Regions from separate parts of the Homo sapiens genome. Here regions 1, 3 and 4 are each linked to region 2. Evidence: promoter capture Hi-C in 16 types of primary human blood cells and fetal thymus (Javierre and others, 2016). All regions are on one chromosome and are shown on one strand. Each heading gives the region's core, a stretch centred on a gene start or on the middle of the fragment in contact. The rest is flanking DNA. Distances are from core to core; before and after follow the strand shown.

The links. Contacts are between HindIII fragments. The CHiCAGO score rates a contact against its expected background, and 5 or more counts as called.
Region 1: a contact is called between the fragment with the promoter of INTS7 here and the fragment with the promoter of RCOR3 in region 2, in 2 of 17 cell types (fetal thymus and activated CD4 T cells). The highest score is 5.2, in fetal thymus.
Region 3: a fragment that was not itself captured here is called in contact with the fragment with the promoter of RCOR3 in region 2 in 3 of 17 cell types (megakaryocytes, fetal thymus and M1 macrophages); the score reaches 7.9 in megakaryocytes.
Region 4: a contact is called between a fragment that was not itself captured here and the fragment with the promoter of RCOR3 in region 2, in 2 of 17 cell types (M2 macrophages and M0 macrophages). The highest score is 17.3, in M2 macrophages.

The regions. Positions count from the first base shown.
Region 1 is chr1:212,032,181-212,037,288 of GRCh38, forward strand. It overlaps INTS7 (integrator complex subunit 7), which reads right to left and starts at 3,377. Exons shown (of 20, transcript NM_015434.4): 1 at 3,164-3,377. The coding sequence starts at 3,257. It overlaps DTL (denticleless E3 ubiquitin protein ligase adapter), which reads left to right and starts at 3,568. Exons shown (of 15, transcript NM_016448.4): 1 at 3,568-3,762. The coding sequence starts at 3,711. RefSeq lists enhancers at 3,228-3,437, 3,316-3,852, 3,598-3,837, 3,853-4,387. The HindIII fragment of the contact is 8,834 bases long and covers 3,292-5,108 here.
Region 2 is chr1:211,256,005-211,261,016 of GRCh38, forward strand. RCOR3 (REST corepressor 3) reads left to right here and starts at 3,362. Exons shown (of 12, transcript NM_001136223.3): 1 at 3,362-3,722; 2 at 4,104-4,160. The coding sequence starts at 3,557. LOC105372902 (a long non-coding RNA gene) reads right to left here and starts at 3,188. Exons shown (of 2, transcript XR_922552.3): 1 at 2,732-3,188; 2 at 1,809-2,571. RefSeq lists enhancers at 2,181-2,300, 2,575-3,076, 3,579-4,078 and silencers at 2,781-3,570, 3,641-3,940. The HindIII fragment of the contact is 7,419 bases long and covers 1,894-5,012 here.
Region 3 is chr1:210,585,554-210,590,425 of GRCh38, forward strand. It overlaps HHAT (hedgehog acyltransferase), which reads left to right. Exons shown (of 12, transcript NM_018194.6): 10 at 2,345-2,546. Among named protein-coding and RNA genes, the nearest start is that of HHAT, 260 kb to the left of the region's middle. The HindIII fragment of the contact is 702 bases long and covers 2,002-2,703 here.
Region 4 is chr1:210,452,276-210,457,770 of GRCh38, forward strand. All of the region lies in intron 7 of HHAT (hedgehog acyltransferase), which reads left to right. Among named protein-coding and RNA genes, the nearest start is that of HHAT, 130 kb to the left of the region's middle. The HindIII fragment of the contact is 3,956 bases long and covers 626-4,581 here.

The sequences.
Region 1 (5,108 bases), core at 2,127-4,626, 780 kb after region 2:
AGTATATCCAGAATCTCAGCACTTCACACATTTTCAGTGTCACCATCTCGGTCTAAGCCACTATTTTCTTTTCCCTGGATTGTTATAGTTGCCTTCTCATTGGTCTCCCTACTTGGGTCCCTGACCCTCCCCACTTCAGTCTATTCTCAGCACAGTAGCCAGACTGATACTTTTCAAAGGAAAGTCAGATCATGTCACACACCTGCTGAAAATCCTCCATGGTTTCCTTTCTCACTCAGAATGAAAGCCAGTCCTTTTGATGGCTTGCACGGCCCTACCTGAACGGGACTCTGGTTATCTTTCTTTTTTTTTTTTCGAGACAGTCTTGCTCTGTTGCCCAGACTGGAGTGCAGTGGTGTGATCTCGGCTCACTGGAAGCCCCGCCTCCCAGGTTCACGCCATTCTCCTGCCTCAGCCTCCCAAGTAGCTGGAACTACAGGTGCCCACCACCACGCCTGGCTAATTTTTTGTATTTTGTTTAGTAGAGACAGGGTTTCACCATGTTAGCCAGGATGGTCTCGATCTCCTGACTTCGTGATCCGCCCGCCTCAGCTTCCCAAAGTGCGGGGATTACAGGCGTGAACCACCACGCCCGACTGACTCTGGTTATCTTTCTATACTCATTGCCTATTACTTTGCTCCAGATAACTGCATGCAAAGGAGGCTTCTACCTCAGGGCCTTTGTACTTGCTGTTCTTCCACTTGATTGAGGAGGTCTTTCTTGCCTATACTTCATAAAATAAGAAATCAACTCCAGCCCCAGATCAGTTTTCTCCAGTCCCTTTCATTGCTTCATTTTCCTTTATAATATGTATCACTAACTGTCACGTTTGCTATATTTGCGGAGTGTCTGCATCTGCTGTCTAGAATGTAAGCTCTATAGGGGCAGGAGTTTTGTCTCATTAACTGCCATGTTCCTAGTACAAAGCCCGATCAAATAAGTCATGTGTCTGAGTGTGTATGCTGAGGTGGGGGAGATATTTCAGAAACAGTATTCCTTGGAGTTTGGGAACGAAAAAAAGAGTTGGAACTTGTAGCCTTCTGACCTTTAGCTCACAAAACAGAAATACTTTAACAGGTACAAGATGAAATGACTCAATATTTAAAATACTCAACTATATTCTACACGAAACTGGCTATTTCTATAACTTAATTTCCTAACAGCTTTAAAAGTTACTACAGATGAGATGAAAAAGAACAAGTCATCTTTCTGAGCCTGAGATTCACCTGTAAAACACTCACGCCAGGCATTGCTGGGAGGAGTGCAAATGATCACTTACTCTGTGTCTAAGATTGACACCTGATTTCTTTCCTATAGATATAAAATATTTTCATTTCAACTCTTCTTTAAAAAGGAAAAATTGTGGTTTTTTTCTTACAACTGCAAAATTTGAGGAATTAAACCATTCTAGACTCCTCTTCAGTGCCCCATCTTTATCCCTGTTCCACAACCACTATCCTATTGTCAGCATGAGACAAGCTCAGCTGCACCAGAATGGTAGAAAATGTCCTTAGAACTCGTAGGGATATTAGATATTATCCTGACCTGTAACTTTCACTGAGGAATAAGAAAGAAATGTATCAGAATGAGGAGGAAAGTGTTTGAAAAACACATTTAAGGCCGGGCGCGGTGGCTCATGCCTGTAAATCCCAGCACTTTGGAAGGCCGAGGCGGACGGATCACCTGAGGTCAGGAGTTGGAGACCAGCCTGGCCAACATGGTGAAACCCCGTCTATACTAAAAATACAAAAATTAGCCGGGCGTGGTGGCGGGCGCCTGTAATTCCAGCTACTCGGGAGGCTGAGGCAGGAGAACCGTTTGAACTCGGGAGGCGGAGGTTGCAGTGAGCCGAGATGGCGCCACTGCACTCTAGCCTGGGCAACAGAGCAACACTCTGTCTCCAAAAAAAAAGAGAAAAACACATTTAGTATTATACTTTTTTTTTTCAGAGGAGAAAACCCCTAAAGATTTGGTAAGAGAAGGAAAAGTTCAACATAATTTTCTTGGTTGATGGGGGTGCACTAAAGATACTGAGACTCAACCAAAGGAATATCCCATTAGGGGGCTGTGAAATTTTTGTGTTTATCAAAATAAGGTAAAAGCTTTTTTAAGAGCCTGAGAAACTCTTATTTAGACTAACCCACTAAAAATATTCACAGTTTAAAAAATAAACAGAAAAAGAGTCCCAAAAAAGTTAATAGACATGTCCAACTCAGAAAACTGGGAAGTGGCTCAAACCCTTCTGAGTTCTAGTCCAGTTCTCCAACATTATATATTGGCTACGATTAATCAAGATTTAATTGTATACCAGCTGCCGAAATGTTTCCCGTACAATAAAAATCCTCAATATGAAATAAAGGTTTCATATTACTAGTCGAGTTCTTTACTAACAAATTTCCGACCTTGCCTCCCATATCCACATCTAAGAAGGGAGGTATATCTCTTCAGCATTTACTAAATGCTTCTTTTGCATACCATTAAGTCACTTAATACAATTCTGCCGGCTCAATGGTACTGTACCCACTTTGCAGACGACAAGCCGAGGCTAGATGAAGTTAATCATAAAATCAGCGGCATTGAAACTTAACTCAGTGTAACCCCAAAGCTCCCTCTACACCAAGCTGCTCCCTGTACGGCAACAGAACTCCTGGAACTTGTCCGCAGAGAATGAGCAGGGCCCTTGCTTTTTTATGGTCTTGGCCAGGTTTAGCCTGCCTTGTAACCCGCAGGTAACAGAGCTATGGAAATCAAATGAATCGCTGTCAAGTCGGTGCAAGATTACTATTCAGCACATTTCATGAAGACCTGGTCTCAACTGAACAGACTGAAAACCAATTTCACAATTTCTTTGCAGTGTCTCTTAGAAACTAGCCACTGTCACTGCTTAGAAAATCGGGGGACTGCTCCCTCAAGTGGTCAAAACGGGCCTCTCACTAGAGCTCGCTACTTGTTTAGCCGGTATAAGGCCAGTCACACAATCCTGCAAATTTCCCGCAACCTCCCGAAGGGGTCAAAGCCCACGCCCCAGCAAAAGCACAGGCGCTCCCCGCCCAGCGAAGACATGCGCATGCGCCTATCCGTCTTCTCCCAAAGCAACCACCACCTGGTGGCGCCACTTCCCCCCACGCCTGTTTCACCCATTCAGCCCTCTCTTTCGAATACCTTTGTCCAATTCCATAAGGGCAGAGTTGGCATCCAGTTCCTGTTCGCCATAGCCGGCATCTGCCAGGAAAGACTTAGTTGAGTTTGACGCCATGACCCGAATAGTTACTCGACTAGCCTAGTCAGAAAGCTTGCAAACTCTACCCCAGGACCGCCATCTTCCCCCGCCGCCTTCTTGCTGGTTTTTCTTCCGCGCGCTGTCAAGCCCTGTTACGCATGCGCCCTGGTCACCCCGCGGTTTGTCCGCGCCTCTGCTACCCCCTGCGCAGGCGCTCAAGGAGCTCTTGGACTCCAGGTTCCCGCGGCTGGGAGAAAAGGAGGCGGGGATCCGAAGGGGGAAATGACTCTGAGGCGCCCGGACGTCGCTCGGAAGCCAATCAGAGAGCGTGACGTCAGTTTGGCGCGGAGTTTGGCGGCCGGGGCTTACAGTGGCGGGAGTTGGAGGCGATAACGATTTGTGTTGTGAGAGGCGCAAGCTGCGATTTCTGCTGAACTTGGAGGCATTTCTACGACTTTTCTCTCAGCTGAGGCTTTTCCTCCGACCCTGATGCTCTTCAATTCGGTGCTCCGCCAGCCCCAGCTTGGCGTCCTGAGAAATGGTGAGTAACGGTCCCAACCGCTGCTCGGAGCTGGCGGAATTCATTTCCCCCGAAACACACGCCACCTCCGACCAGGGCCGACTCCAATTCTGAACTCAGCTTCTGAGTTCTCCCATGGCAAGGGTAAATTAGTGTTAGCAGGGACTACTAAAGAAAGCTGTACTTTCATCCCCTCGGGACACTTGTAATCGTAATCGGGCTTTTAAAATCGTAACGTAGGCAGGGACGTCGAAATAACTGCCTTCCAAGGCCCCTTACAGCTTACATCTCCATTGCGCGTTAACGGGAAAATGCATGCATTTGTGTGTATATGTTTCCTTCAACGGTTATTTGAGATGCTCAAAACTCCTAATCATTGATTAATTCATTCGTTTGTTGTAGAATCTTAGTGAGCCCAGCTATGTGCTATAGGTATATACCAGTGAATATGACCCGCTGTTAAGGAACTCAGTCAAGCAGAGAAGACAGGATATCTGCTTCTAACAGGAACAAAATCTTATTTTCCCCGTTTACTACACGGTCATAAAAATTTAAATTATAGAGTGAAAGATGCCTGTAACCACATCCGCCAGAGATGACCCCTGTTAATAGATTGAAGTATATTATTCCAGATGTTTTCGACGCTAGAGGTAATACCTATTATTTTCAGAAATCGGATCAAAACGTCCAGTTTTTTCACTTTAATGGTATAAGTTGAACGTATTCCCATGTTAATACGTAGAAATCTAACTTATTTTCTTACGCTAAAACATTGGCAATAAGAGATTTGAGGTTAGATTTGGATGTCATCAACTTAAACTTTTTGGTAAGTTTCAGATAAGGGAGCTAACTACCCAGATTAACCTTGGACAGAAATAAAATCTCACTCATGTGAAGGTCGACTATAGCCAGAGGTTCTTTTTCCCCTTGAAACTATGTGGAAAACGAACCTGAGAAGGGAATTTTTATATTCAGCGATGAGTCTAGGAAAATAATATTGAGAAAGAGACTGAGAAGTAGTCCCTCAACTTCCTGCTAGCAGTCTGAAACTTTATACCATCCTTATTTATTTCCCTCTTAGATAATCTTTGTAATTATACTTAAATGCTCCTCTTTCTGTCTCTCCTGGGACCTTGTTTGAGTAACTTCTTTGTCCTCTGTTTAAGAGTGACAGTACGCACAGTGGCTAAGAACTCTGTCTTTGAAGTTAAACTGCCTGGGTTTTATTATACTTCCACACCTTACTATATGTGTGTTCTGGGGGAGCTGTTCAGCCTCTATTTTGTGACAGATTTTCTCCTAATTCTCCATGTGTTTACCTTTCCCTTCCCTCTTTCCTATTCTCAAGTACTCATTCGTTGTTACAT
Region 2 (5,012 bases), core at 2,112-4,611:
CGCCTCCCAGGTTCAAGCGATTCTCCTGCCTCAGCCTCCCAAGTAACTGGGATTATAGGCGTGCACCACCATGCCTGGCTAATTTTATTTATTTATTTAGAGACAGAGTTTCACTCTTGTTGCCCAGGCTGGAATGCAACAGCATAATCTCAGTTCACTGCAACCTCTGCCTCTCAGGTTCAAGTGATTCTCCTGCCTCAGCCTCCTAAGTAGCTAGGATTACAGGCACCCACCACCACACCTGGATAATTTTTGTATTTTTAGTAGAGACAGGGTTTTACCATGTAGGCCAGGCTGGTCTCGAACTTCTGACCTCAGGTGATACGCCTGCCTCAGCCTCCCAAAGTGGTGGGATTACAGGCATGAGCCACCACGCCTGGCCAAAAACTCATTTTCTAATTGTTTAATGCTAGCACATAAAAATTTAATTGATTTTTATAGCTAACTGTACCCAGCAACTTGCTTAAAATCACTTAATACTAAGTGTGTAGATTATTGTAATTTTATGCATAAAATGATAGACTATCATGCTTTCTCTAGATAACAGGTTTATGTATTTCTTTCCAATCCTTATACATTTTTCCTTGCCTTTATGCATTGCTGGAATCTGTAGTACAATACTGAAGTACATCCTATCTTTTGACTTTATAACTATGAGAAAGTATTCTGTTCCAAATTTAAAATATGCACCTAGTAAAACTTTCAAAAATACAGTAAAAACACCAGCCAAAAAAATAACAGCCTTCTAGTTAAATCCAAAGGCCTTTTCTTAAGCCCTTCTCATGATTCTGCATCAGTGGACACTGTTTATTAACCCTTTTTTTTTTTTTAGTTTTTTTGAGACAGTCTCGCTGTCGCCAGGCTGGAGTGCAGTGGCATGATCTTGGCTCACTGCAATCTCCGCCTCCCGGGTTCAAGCGATTCTCCTGCCTCAGCCTTCTGAGTAGCTGGGATTACAGGAGCCTGCCACCATATCCAGCTAATTATTGTATTTTTAGTAGAGACGGGGTTTCACCATGTCGGCCAGGATGGTCTCGATCTCCTGACCTCATGATCCGCCTACCTCGGCCTCCCAAAGTGCCAGGATTACAGGCGTGGGCCACCGCGCCTGGCCTATCAAGCCATTCTAAAGCATTCTTTCCATGTCCAGCTTCTTCTTTTCCTCTTCTAACCCATTACAGTCAGGCATTTCCAAGATTTCGCCTTAGACCTTTTCTCTTTGTATATTAGTCCTTGTTAGCTATTGGGAAACATTTTAAGGTCCATTATTATTCAGAACCAGGCCAGCTTCAGGTGCTTTCCTTTTCTTCAGGAACAAAACAGAAACCTATTATACTTTCCTGTTTAAAAAATGCCATACTCTCCCCTCGCCCAGGTTCTTCTCCTAACTGTGGAATGCAGTCTTCTCTGCGTCTGCCCTTTTGTGCTGTGCTCGAATGGAATCTTCTCACTTTACTGGTTTTACTAATAAACAGAAGTTACAAAGGTCCCTAAATCTTTCCAACGTTTTGGTTCCTGATCTATATGCAGATTCCCTTCTGCAGGAAACTGCATGGAGTGCCACAACATTGGGTGTTAGAAAGCTGGCTGGCTCAGAGGCCTCAGAGTGAGGAGCATTTGACAGGGTCTAGCTTTTGTGTTACAGGACCAAAGAAGCTGAATCATGTTCATTAGAAACTGCTGCATAAAGACCAACATACCAGTGTATTAATTTGTAATGAAAAATAACGACTGTCAAGGAAAATGGCTATTCATTTCATTTGGCCAGGGCATTCTCTCCTTGTAGGAAAACTATACGGGAATTAAAATAATATTCAGAACTGCATTTATTGAGAAAAGGAACAGAATAAAAGGTCCAGTTTTATGATTCAAATATTTAATGGAATCACATTAAGCTTTAATAGAGAGATGAGACTATCTCTACTACTAGAACCAGATAGTTTTGTACACACACAGGAGACTTTTCACTTCAGAAATATTTACTTCCCAGGGTTTTCTTGGCTCAATTCCTGAGTTAGATATATTATTTCTCTCAGTAAGGTTTGCTCTGGCCAGAGACGTTCATTTCTGGTTTGATCCACTCTGGATTGACCCATAATAGAATTATTACAAGACAGTATTTTCAAGTGTTTGGAGAGTATCTGCTGAACCCCAATACCGCTCAGCATACATCTGCATACTAGAGGCTCACAGTTAAATCCTCACTTATTTCTACTTATTCGTCAGTGGGGGGGAAGAAATCAGAAAAAGAGGAAAAGAAAATCATAAACAGCCCCCAATGCCAGGCAGCCTGGCACGCAGCAGATGCCCTCAAATCTGGTGAAGGAATAAACGCAGTTTCCTACTCCTTTCGCCGAATGCAATTCAGAAAAGCATTACAGAGCACAACTCCTTCCAGGCTGGAAACGCTGCCAGAAAGCAGCTCTCGCTTCACCTCTGCCGGGGGACTCCGCCCTCTCCCCCAGCGCTCCAAGCGGAGACCGCAGGTCAGCAAGAACTGAAAACGCGTCTACTGGGCCAGGTCTCATGTTTATCTTATTTCCCCCTCACTCCACAGCACTCACTCCCCAGCTATTAAAACAGAGAAGAAAAAAAAGGAAAGAAAGATGGTAAGAATAAGACAGTAGGGTTAGGATCGGGGAGAGGGGCTTCAGCAAAAAACAGTTGCATCGCTCAGCCCCGGAAACTCATCCCGTCATCCCCAGACTCTCTCTCGGGAACTGGGCCCTACTTCAGAGATCCAGAAACAAAAATTGTAGCGTCGAGATGGTTAGGGCCGAGTCTACTTCTTTCGCCGGTTGGGCCTCAGAGCCCCAAGGCCGCCCTGCTATACTGCGCGACTGCACCGCGGGCCAGAGCGCGCCCCTAGCTCGAGGCTGCCAGCGGACACCGGGAAACTGAGCGGCCTGCGGGTCCAGACATCTGAGGAACGCCGCGCTCAGGCCCGTGCCTGCAGCCCGGTCCGCAGAGGGGGGGGGCCGCTCCCCCCGGTCGCCCAGTCGGGTCGCGCCGGTCCTTTCTCAGGGTGACCGCGTTCCTTCCGCCCAGAGAGGGCAAAGAGTCCCGCTCCCTCGTGTGCATCTCCCGCCCGCGCTCCGGAGCGCCCCCTAGGAAGAAAGCCCGAGCGGCGGCCACGCCTCGGTGGCGATTTTATTAGCGCTTGGTTGGGGTGGCCCGGCTGCCTGCGAGCGGGGTTTCCCCGCCCCTCCCCCCTTCCCCTCCCCCCAGGCGGCCGGAACCTCCCTGCGGAGCGGAGTGATACCGGCGGCGGCGTAGAGCGCGGTGCGGCCGAGGGGCGCCCGGGACTGCGCGGGGCGGGCGGCGGCGGAGGGAGGAGGGGAGAGAGGCGGGGCCGGGGCGGGTTGTTGTGAGGCGACTGCGCTACTGCCGGAGCGGGGCGGTTATGGCGGCTCCATATTAACAGCCTCCTCCTCCTCCGCCGCCGCCGCCGTCTCCTCCTCCTCCTCCTTTCCCTCCCGCCCGCGCTCTAAGCCATCTCCGCCTTCACCCTGACGCCTGCCTCTTCCCCTCACCTTTCCCCCTCCCCTGTTCTACCATGCCCGGCATGATGGAGAAAGGGCCCGAGTTACTGGGGAAGAACCGATCGGCCAACGGCAGCGCCAAGAGCCCGGCAGGCGGCGGCGGCAGCGGCGCCTCGTCCACCAACGGCGGGCTGCACTACTCAGAGCCCGAGAGCGGCTGCAGCAGCGACGACGAGCACGGTGGTAGCCTCGAACTCCTCCCCGCCAGCCCGCCTGCCCCCCTCCCTCTTCCCCTCCCCCAGCCCCCTCCCCTCGCCGCTCTCCCGCCCTCCCTCCCCTCAGAGCCTGGGCGCTGCGGTAGCCTCGAACTCCCGGTGCAGTGCAGCAGCACCCCCGCGACCCCCCGTCCCTCCGCCCTCGACCAATCCTCCGCCTTTGCCCCCCCCCGCTCCCCGCCCCCAATCCGCTGCCATCTCCCGGAGTGCCCCGAGTTGATATCTTCCCATCCACCCGCCGCTTCTTTCCTCCATCTAGCGATTTTTATTTTTTAAGTGTCTCTTCCTTTTTCTTTCTTTTCTTCTTTTTTATTTTTTATATATATTTTTTGGCATTGCTTTGCAGATGTTGGGATGAGAGTCGGAGCCGAATACCAAGCTCGGATCCCTGAATTTGATCCAGGTAGATATATTTGCTTAAGCAAAATCTCATATCCCCTTTCCTGGGCTTGGTTTGGGGTGGACGGGCTAGGAGTCCGGGCATGGGGCCGGGAGGGGATGCGGGGTTGGGCTGGGCAGGCATCCGTGGCGGGGAGGCTGTCAGGCTTGGCCGGGCTGTGACACTGGGCGTGTGGGCAGATGTGTGCACTGCAAGGTTAACATGGTTCCCTTCGGAGGCCACTTGCCCGCTGGGGGCATCGCCTTCCTAGCCCTTGAGCCTGGGGCAGGGTCGGGGTGAGCAGAGGGAGACGGCCCTTGGCGGAGTCCAGGGTCCGAGGCCGCGGGCTGGAGGAGCAGGCGTGCGGACTGTATGGACGAACCGTGCAAATGTCAATTGCCACCTCGCTCGCCCCGGCGCCGAGGGCCGCGCTCTGTCGGGCGGGTGGCAGAGGCCAGGGCGGCTGTCACCGGCCGGGGAAGCCAAGGGCGAGCCCTGCCGACCTGTGCGCAGCCGGGATTGTCTCTTTTCTTTCTTTTTGGCTAGGTGGTGTAGCTTTGGTCGCGGCAGCTCTGCGGAGTGCAGGAGCCGCGGAGAGAAAGGGGTGGGGGAAGGGGGTGGGGAGACGCCAGCGGCAGGCACACCTCGCTCGCCAGCCAGCTCTGGGAAGTTAGACCACAGGACAGTGGCTGCAGCTGCCAAGGAGACATTTTCTCCCCGACCAGCCAGGTTCCAGCGTCCTCTGCCAACCCAGCTTGCGGGCTCCCTGTCTACTTTTCTCCAAACAGGCTCCCCGGCGGTCACGAGATTTCAGCCTGTGCAGGGATTGGGCGAGAGTTCCGCATATGGAGGCGCCCTTGCTGGAGCCTCTCGGAG
Region 3 (4,872 bases), core at 1,103-3,602, 670 kb before region 2:
GACTACAGGCCCACACCACCATGACTGGCTGATTTTTGTATTTTTGGTCGAGACAGGGTTTTGCCATGTTAGCCAGGCTGGTCTCGAACTCCTGACCTCAGGTGATCCACCCGCCTCAGCCTCTCAAAGTGCTGGGATTACAGGCAAGAGCCACTGCACCCAGCCAGAACTAGGCTTAATTCTGAATACAGCTTGGATAAGGGGGATATAGCCAAGGAGCAAGGTGGGGGTCATTGAGTGGAATATTAAGAGGAAACATTGGGAAATAGGAGGATTCTGGCTAAACAGACCTAACAGGATTCCTCCTGAAGGCAGCCAGGGTGATCAGACACCAAGAGTAGGTGATGAAGAATTTGGCCAGATGATGGAGCATGATCAGATATTGCAGGTGGGGGGTTCGTTCTAAACTGACTTAGCAGGATTCTTGCTACAATAAAGATGGACACCAAGGTTGAGGCCTAGAGAGCTTAGAGGAGCTTGACTAAAGTTTAGTCAAGGAGAGAGTCTTTGTCCAGTGGCACAGTTTTATCATAGAGTCTTTTAAAAGATTTATTGCCTGATAAGTTGTTTTTATTTTTAGCCTGCCTACCTATACAGTTGTTCTATTAAGCCAGGTATAGTGACTCATACCTGTAATCCTTGCACTTGGGAGGCTGAGACAGGAGGTTCACTTGAGGCTAGGAGTTCAAGACCAGCCTAGGCAACTTTTATATCATCTCTACAAAAAAAGTTTTAAATTAGCTGGGTGTGGTGGTGCATGCCTGTAGTCCCAGTTACTTGGGGGGCTAAAGTGGGAGGATTATCTGAGTTCAGGAGTTTGAGGTTGTGGTAAGCTGTGACTGCACCACTCTACTCCTGCCTGGGTAACATCTAGAGATGCTATCTCTAAAAATAAAATAGTCCTGTTGAAAACATTTTGAATAGAACAATTTCCTCTCTAAAAACAATTTTATTTCCTCTTCAAAAACAAGTTTGATCTCCTCCCCTAAATTAATATATAAACAGGACAAATGCTAAATTGTTTAAAATGCTGGGGCAGTAGGTATAAACTATACATATGGTGCTTTAAAGAATCAAAGTGGTACATGTAAGTGTCTAGTACTTGGAACATACTGTGTATTCAGAAAAGGATTTTTTCATTTTCCTTCCTGGAGGAAGGTTGGACAAAGAAGCACTGATCAGCAATAAAGGCCTATGGGCTTTTTAAAAAGGCTATTGCAAGAAGGGTATGCTCCTAGCTTTCCAGGTCCTAACAGCTCAAGGTGTGAGTTTTGTCCAACTCAAGCAGGAAATTACTGATTGAAGAACATAGTACTGTCTCTACGTACTCAGGCAGCTGTCTCAGCAATGGAGAACATACCCAGGGGACAGCTATGCATTTTGTCTGGTACTTTGGCTGCCCTGTGAGCACAGAGCTCTTTTCTTTATTGTGAATTCACGACTGCTTCTGGGCAACCTGCCTAGAAAGCTGGGGAACCGTCTCTGGCACCCATCTGCTGCACCCAGCTCCTGCCTGTTTAGGAACGTGATCTTACCAATTGCATTTAAATAATGGGTTTACCATAAACTTAATAGTTTGAGCTGTAAAATCCACACTTGCTGTATTAGTCCATTTTCATACTGCTATGAAGAAATACCCAAGATTGGGTAATTTATAAAGAAAAAACACTTTAATGGATTCACATTTCCACATGGCTGGGGAGGCCTCACAATCATGGCAGAAGGTGAAGGAGAAGCAAAGGCACATCTTACATGGCGCCAGGCCGGAGAGCATGTGCAGGGGAACTGCCCTTTATACAACCATCAGATCTCGTGTGAGACTTATTCGCTATCATGAGAACAGCATAGGAAAAACCCACCCCCATGATTCAATTACCTCGCGCTGGGTCCCTCCCATGACACGTGGGGATTATGGGAGCTACAATTCAAGATGAGATTTGGGTGGGGTCACAGCCAAACCATATCACCTGCCTTGAAGGTTGCTGGCCTCATGTAGCCAGAAGCTTAACTGCCATTCTGTGATTGGATTTCCAGGGTTGGGCCCATCCCTTTCAGAAACTCTAAATTCATGACTTCTTGCCCTGCCTCTTGTAAGTGCTATTTTGCTCTAGTAATGAGAGCTCTTGAGCCTGTGTGTTCATTTAACCTAACACCCTGCAGAGCTAAGGCTTGGGTTTTCGCCAACTCCTTGTGGGATGGAGAATCCAAGGAATCTGGCCTCTTGGAAGTGAGGAAGGATCTGCATATGTGAACAGCAGTATGTGACAGGATAGTCAAGCTGGGGAGCAGATAGAGTTGCAGGGCAGCCCTCTGTATGTCTCCTAACAGCCTCTTCTTTCTCTAGGTATGTGTACATTCCAGTGGGCGGGTCCCAGCATGGCCTGCTGGGGACACTGTTTTCCACGGCGATGACATTTGCATTTGTGAGCTACTGGCATGGCGGCTACGACTACCTCTGGTGCTGGGCAGCGCTCAACTGGCTGGGAGTCACTGTGGAGAATGGAGTCCGGAGGCTGGTGGAGACTCCCTGCATCCAGGACAGTCTGGTGAGCAGGATCCTTGCTGCTGTGTTAGGGGACAGTGGAACTAGGCAGATCAGGTTTATTAGGGATGGGGCCATCAGATTCCCTGCCCCCACTATGGGCCCTTTCTACTAGGTTGGTTCAAAGTCCATATGCCTAGAGGCAAGACAGCTGGAAAAGAAGCTTCTGTAGTGCATATATGTGTGTTTGTGCATGGGTGTGTGTGTGTATATATAACTATAAAAAATGTATTATGTAAAAATTAGAACATTTAAACAAGAAAATAACCTCTCAACAGAAACCATGTTAAGATCCATTCTTCTAAATTTTTTCCATGTGTATATACAAACAGACATATGTATATAACATTAAAACAAATGCTATTACAGAGAGATGATTGTATCGGGACCACCTTTTTAAGTCACTGAGTCCATACCTAACCACCCTTTTTAATGGCTACATAGAATTCCCTTACGTGGATATGCCATAATTTATTTTAGTCTCCTATTATTAGTAATCATATTATTCTAAAGATTTTTTGCAACTATCAACTGTATTAAGATGAATATCATAACCAGGATGAATTCTCGTAAGTGAAATTTCCAGGTTCAAGGTTTTTCTCATCTTTAATGTTCATTATGTATATTGCTTATTAACTCTTAACTGCCCTGTAGACAAAAGTACACTAATTTGTATTTCTACCAATGGTGCATAAGAATGACCTTGCTAATACTGAGTATAACTGGAATTTTAAATCCTTGATAGGTATTGTATATAGTAGTATAAAAAACAGCTAAGGTTTTTAAGAAGCAGTTCAACTTTACAGGAAAATGATTTGGAAAATCAATTAAGCATTTCTCTTTACACATATATTTTAAGTGATTTTAAACTATGGGCATAGCTTTTATCTTGCGAATGTGATATATGATATATTACAATCTTGTAGGAAATCATCAGTTCTGAAGATGTAGCAATATTCCTCTAACCCCGAAAAAAGTAGCTAAAAAGAAATGTGCTGGCATCAGTGTTCATGGCAGGCAATCACACACAGAAAATTTGAAAAATGATTAATGTGGCTACATTCCACCCAGTGTGAATAACTAAAGCAAATGCACTTTAAAAAGCCCTGTCAAAACAGAATACATTTACATATGTTTTTATAAAGATAGCCATAGTACAAGTGGACAGTTATTTCAATAAAAACTGAAATAAACCGAGTAGTCAAACAACACATTGGAGGGGATTTAAATATGCTCATGTATGTATAAAGATAAATATTTTTCCAGCCATCAGCAGGAAAGAAATGCCAGTGGATTCTAACAGAAAATGTTATTTCAGTGAAAGCCATGGCTATGTAACACACAGGAAAACCAAAAAGGATGGTATCATAAAGATTTTAATCTTCATCCTCAAATCTGAGCATTCTGCTCCAAAGCCTGAAAACACAGTTACCACCTTTGAAAGTCAGAAGGTTCTTTTCAGCCCAGTCTGTAGCCCTGCAACACATTTCTGTGCTCTTTCATGAAGCAAGTAACATTAACCTTGAACTTAATGTTAAGCAGTGCTCTGTGGCCTTTGAGCCATAGCTTATGCTAGTAATAATTTTAGAAATCTAAAACATTCGAGTAACCCAACTGTGCCATGTAGCCTGTGACCTGTTCATTTTGGTTCAAAATAAATCAAGGCATCAAGCACACTTACTCACAGGATGAAGCTCTTGCTTGTCTACCTTGCTCCATCACACCTTGCTCCAGGACTCACTCATTCACCTCACTTGACCTTCCATCTACAATTCAGGTACCTTGGTACATAGTAATTTTTGATATGCATTTTTTTGGCAAAATATTTGTCTTATATGTTGCAAGTATGATGTTTGGCTTGCATATTTATTGAGCAAGAATATATGAAACTTATTTTTATCACCTACAAGCCTGGTAGGCAGTTACAGCTATTTAGACGATGGACTCCTTGAGTACATGGCCAGGTTCCCATTACTCTGTTTATCCCCATTGTCTGAGTGAGCCTCAGTGTTAAATCAGTGCACAATTAGTGCTTTCATATCAGGTTGATTATTTAGTTCTTCCTCCACTTGCCCAGACATAGAATCTTCCTCCAGTACCCTGTTTCTTATGTAGTTCCACACAACATCCAAATGCACACAATTTTTTGAGTAAACTATTTCCCCACTTAGGTTACCCTTCTTCCCTCTCTTTTCATGAATCAATTTCCTGTTCTTCTGTCAAAATCCAAATGAAGACTTACTGGCTTTGTGAGTTAATTATGCATGCCCCTCACATCCTCAGTAGTATTCAGAGTTCTCCAGAGAAACAGATCAATAGGATGTGTGTGT
Region 4 (5,495 bases), core at 1,354-3,853, 800 kb before region 2:
GCTGAGATAAGCCCATTTTGCTCATTGCCCCCTGCACATGCATTCAATTGGTAGTGAGGAGGAAGTTGAATATTTAGGGTTCAGGTGGGGGCTCTCAGTGCCTCCCCTTTTAGAATATTGCATTCTGGAAAATTAAAAGCATAAATGTAGAATTAACCCTAATGTATTCATCTCCCAGGTTCAACAATTATCAACTCCTGGCCAGTTTTCTTTCATCTGTACTCTCTCCCGTATTGTTTTGAAGCAAATCCCAGATATCTTATTATCTATGAATATTTCGGTAGTATCTCTAAAAGATAAGAACTGTTATATTCTTTTGAACTTCAGAATCTTCTAAGAAAACAGAACATGGCAGAGTGGAGCTATACCCTAACTAGGCAGAGCCTAGGATTAAGAGGAGCAAAGACAGTGACTTGAGGTTTTTCTTTAAAAGAGCTCAGAAAGGTAATATTTCTTCAATTTATTATTGAATGGTGCTTCTCTATGGTAAATCCATGGTAAATCCAGGTATATGAGTTTATGGGAGAAAAGAGAGCTTTAGCAAGGGATTTGAGAGTGAGCGAGGAGATAGAAAAGTGAAAATAATTGAAAGTTGGTTGTTCTTACATGGCAAAGTTTATAATAAAGCTTTGTGGAATGTACATTAGAGTCCTTTTTGAAAGACTTAATTGTTCACTGATTGGAGATTAAAAACCTGTCTAAGTGTAAGTAATCAGAGTTTTTTAGCTCAGTGTTTAAGTACCAACTGTTGTTGAAATAACGCCTGTGCACCTATCTAAATGGTAATGAAATGCCAGCAAAGTTATCCATTTGCTTTTTCTCATTCTACAACATAACAGTGAGAGGAAAGGGATAAGACATTTGACGTCTGATCCTTGTTTTGAAAGCTGGGGAGACAAACATATATCAGTTAGCATAAGATTCCTTTCTTTTTCCCCTCTTTTGAGGCATTAAACATTCTAAGGTTCGTTAAGATACAGTAGAAAAAATTTTTATAAATTTTCTTCTTGGATTAGAATCCTAAGGTTATTTAAAATTAATGCAGTGTAAACCTAAAGCTACTCTGGGATTTACTACTCTGGAACTTGACTGTTCAATTACAGATATTCTATGTAGTGTGAAGATAATTTCATGGTGCATGCTTGCAGAATGGAAGAGATGCCTGCTTGATGTGCTGTTATAAATATATACTGAAATGTAGCAAGTTGCAGCACAGTTATTTAAAATACCCCCTATTCCGTGCCTTCCCTTTCCCCCTTTCTCTCCTTCCCCCATAGTCCCCTCAGAATACCATGATCTTTGTTCATTCTTAACTAACTCATTATTGTGCTGAGGTAACTTGGTGTACGGACAACTTCTTAGATGCAGAAAATACTTGTATGTTTCTTTTAAACCAGGTTGACATATGGAAATCTGAATTTGTTGGATACTTTGAGGGGGGTAATTATTTGCTTTCTAAAGGGATTCTTTACTTTTTTGAAGGATTTGCAATAGAATCCTTTAATTAGTAGTTAATTTCCAATTCAGTCTACACATAGATTTTACAGAGCACTTCTTTTAGGCAAAGTGAGTGATGGACTGTATTAGTTTGTTTTCACACAGCTGATAAAGACATACCCGAAACTGGCAATAAAAAGAGGTTTAATTGGACTTACAGTTTCACATGGCTGGGGAGGCCTCAGAATCACAGAGGGAGGTGAAAGGTACTTCTTACATGGCGGTGACAAGAGAGAAATGAGGAAGAAGCAAAAGCAGAAACCCCTGTTAAACCCATCAGATCTTGTGAGACTTACTATCACGAGAATAGCGTGGGAAAGACTGGCCCCCGTGATTCATTTACCTCCCGCTGGGTTCCTCCTGCAACACATGGGAATTCTGGGAGATATAATTTAAGTTGAGATTTGGGTGGGGACACAGCCAAACCATATCATGGACTCTGCCTGAAAATGTGCTTTTTAGAATTTTCAGACATTTTGCCCTGTGTAAAGCTCCCTTCGGCCGGGCACGGTGACTCACGCCTGTAATCCCAGCACTTCGGGAGGCCGAGGTGGGCAGATCACAAGGTCAGGAGATTGAGACCATCCTGGTGAACATGGTGAAACCCTGTCTCTAATAAAAATACAAAAAAATTAGCCGGGCGTGGTGGCGGGTGCCTGTAGTCCCAGCTACTTGAGAATCTGAGGCAGGAGAATGGCATGAACCTGGGAGGTGGAGCTTGCAGTAAGCCGAGATCGTGCCACTGCACTCCAGTCTGGGTGACAGAATGAGACTTTGTCTCAAAAAAAAGCTCCCTTCTTGTCCCACATTATTTCATTAAGTCTTGCCTGGCTATGTGTGTGGAGTATTACTTTGCTTCTGCTGTGTGGGATCTTCTTCCCTGCATTTCTTGAATCAAGTACAAGATGTCAGCAGGTGATATCCTGAGGAACAAGATGGGCAAATAGGATTTAATATTCTACCTAGGTAAATTGTGTCCTCCAGCAACACATCTTTCCTTTAAAGAGGGACATTTTGGTGGTTTGAGCCCGTTAAGAAGCAATTTTCCAAAACCAAATTTTTCCATGTCTAACATGTTCAAAGAATAGTCACTCTGGGAAGTCAACTCTCTCTTGGGTTTCCAAGTTAATAACCACTCATTGTGACCTTGAAAGGATCAGTTTGGTGTTAAAGAAAAAGAAGAAACAGTTACCTGGGAGAGTGTTAGTTCATGGTTGCCCAGTGTAGAGCCCTTTCTACAGATCACTGGCTCCTCTCATTTAAGGACAAAGCAGGGGAGGCTGATGGGAGGCCAGGAGGCAATTTTCATGCAGCTGTTGAAGCTCTTTCTGGGGCTGACTCTTGACCTTGACCGAGACCACCTCTGGGAGCAGCTGAAAGGCTTCCCGAGATTGATGGTCCTTGGCACACTAAGTGCCTGTCTTCTTGTCCCTGTCTTTCACGTTACCTGCCCTTTATAGCAGAAAAAGGTATCTCTCATTGTGCCTGTGCTTCTTTGACCTGGTATTAGTTAGCTTGAAACAACTCAAAGAGCAAATCTGTTCATCTGGAGTTGCTCACCACAACACACCGCACCCTCATTTGATTTCAAATACCTTTGCATACGTTGTGCTCTTTGAGGCTGGATTTTCTGAGGACCTTTAGAGCTCGTTCCCTTTGTTTTTTTGGTTTGTTTCTTTGTTTCCTGCTTGAAATAACCTCTGTCAGCTCCCTTTAACAACTCCCTGGTCAGCTTCACACAGGCTCTGTTCCACGTCTGGCCTCAGTTTTGTGTGAATCTAGTAAACGTGGTGACTTGGAGACAGCTGACCCGATTCAAGTTCCGACCCTGCCACTTGTTACTGTGTGATCTTAGGCAAATTTTGTAACCTTTCTGTGCCCAGGTTCCTATCTGTAAAATGGGGAGTAATAGTAGTTCTCACCACAGAGAGAATGGAGCAAACACTGGTTTCTCCATCCTTAGTTTAAGAAATAAAATATTACAACATAGTTGAAACCTGATTGGGTTCCCTCCTGATTGTGTTTCCCACCCTGCCCCTAAATGGCAGCCACTATCCTGAATTTGGTATTTTTATTATTCTGTATCTGTTTATGCTTTTACTGTTTGTGTGATTATTGTTTTACATGGATATTGGTAAATAATAAGGCCCATGAGAGACGAGATGGAACTGTCTGAGAAGCCACGCCTGAAGGGTGTGTAGATCCCACTTTAGCAACTGTAGGTAGAGGAGAGTGCAAAGCTCTGCCATAGCTCTCATCAGGAGAGCACCAGGTTTTGGCTTTGTCCCCTTCTGTTTGGCTGCTGTCCCTCCAGGCCTGTTGATGGACCCAAGGAGCACAGCCTGGCCTCTTTGTATTGTTTTGTGCCTTCACGCAGAAAGGAATTATGCAGCCAGAAGTTTATAGCCCCAAATCACTCTCTAATCCACTCAAGTCTGTTCTTGCTTCATTTTACCAACATCTGCTTTGTTCGTTTCTAGTTTTAGGGATGTGATTAATGTTCCTCCAGCTTCTGACTCGTTGCCTTTTTTCCCCTTTCTGTCTCCCCTCTCTCCCTGGTTTGGTCTTACTTACTCTGAATACTCAGTCTTTGCATTTCCTGGAAGCAGCCCTAAAGCCTCTTCTGTGAACTGCTCACCAGCCAGATGCAGCGGGTTCCTGGGACCACCCCCTTTTTGAGCACCAGAGGGTCAACTACCGGATGTGCATGGCCTTGCCATCAACATGCACAACCAATTGTTTAGAGCATATTATTGCTGTACTATGAGTAGGGGATTTTGTGATATAGACCGTGCACAGGCAGGTAGATTACATGTGTCTGTCCCTCTTGGTCAGAGATTCAGCTTAGGATCTCCTAGTGGATGAGTCTGAGCTACTGGTTTCTGACCATTTGTCCTTCAGCAGGCCAATGACACTGTTGAGCTCAGAAGTGGGGACACTAGCTTCTCCCTGGTGGGGCTGCTTCTAGCTCTAGAGGTTTAGGTTGAATTGAAATGACACCAGTTGCTGTAGTCATTCATTTCCAGAATTCAATGCTAGAGATGACTGAATTCCTTTTGCTTCTTTAGCCCCTCTGGCCGGTCAAGCTTCACGTGAGGTGTCCCTGGTACCTCTCCCCCACACGCTGCTCTTCCTTCTGGGCTGTAGCACTTGCTGCTCTGGAGTATGTGGCAGCTGTTCCTCAGTTCTGCCCATGACCTCACTCCCTTCCCCTACCAGTCACATTTACTGACTTTGGTTTTCTGGGTGCTGATCCATCTCCTCCTGACCAAGCACGTTACAGAACTCCTGTGGGGCAATAGCTACCTTTTGTTCAGTGTGTCTGCAGAGCCATCATGATGACTCTGAGCACTGGTGGGTTGACCACCTCAGGACATTAGTTTCTCTTCCTCCTTCACCCCCGGCGGGGAGAGAAAATCTCCAAGTCTCTGTTGTAGCACTTCCACCTTATGTTGAGGTTCCTGGTCTGTATTATTCTTGATTCGTCTTTATATTTCCAGTACTTACCCCACATCTTATATATGAGAGGTTCTTATAAATAACCTCATATGAGAAAAAACTTATTAAAAAAAAGTCTAAGCTTCTTGAAGCTACAAAGCTTTAATCACAAAAAAAAGTTAAGCAAAATCTAGAGTAGGTTTGATGTGGACAAAGTAAAAGTTATTAGAGGGACTTGGAACAGAAAATGTCCAGACGAGAGGTCAGGCCACGGACTGACACAGGGGCATAAGCTGGTACACGCAGATAGAGCATGCTTCCTGAAGCTGAGGGAATTGGGAGCCAGTGCCTGACACACACGATGAGATTCGGAAGGCAGGGGTCAAACATGCAAAGATGGCAGCTCTGCAGCCAGCCCACAGAGCTAAGGGGCACCTCTCTCCAATCCTGGCAAACGCTGGCACAAGACACAACTGGATTCTTTCTGTTGCTCATGAATTTTCATGAGGCAGTTGGTGAGTTGTTCTCCAGGTCTGTGGGGGAATTAACAATTCAAAAGG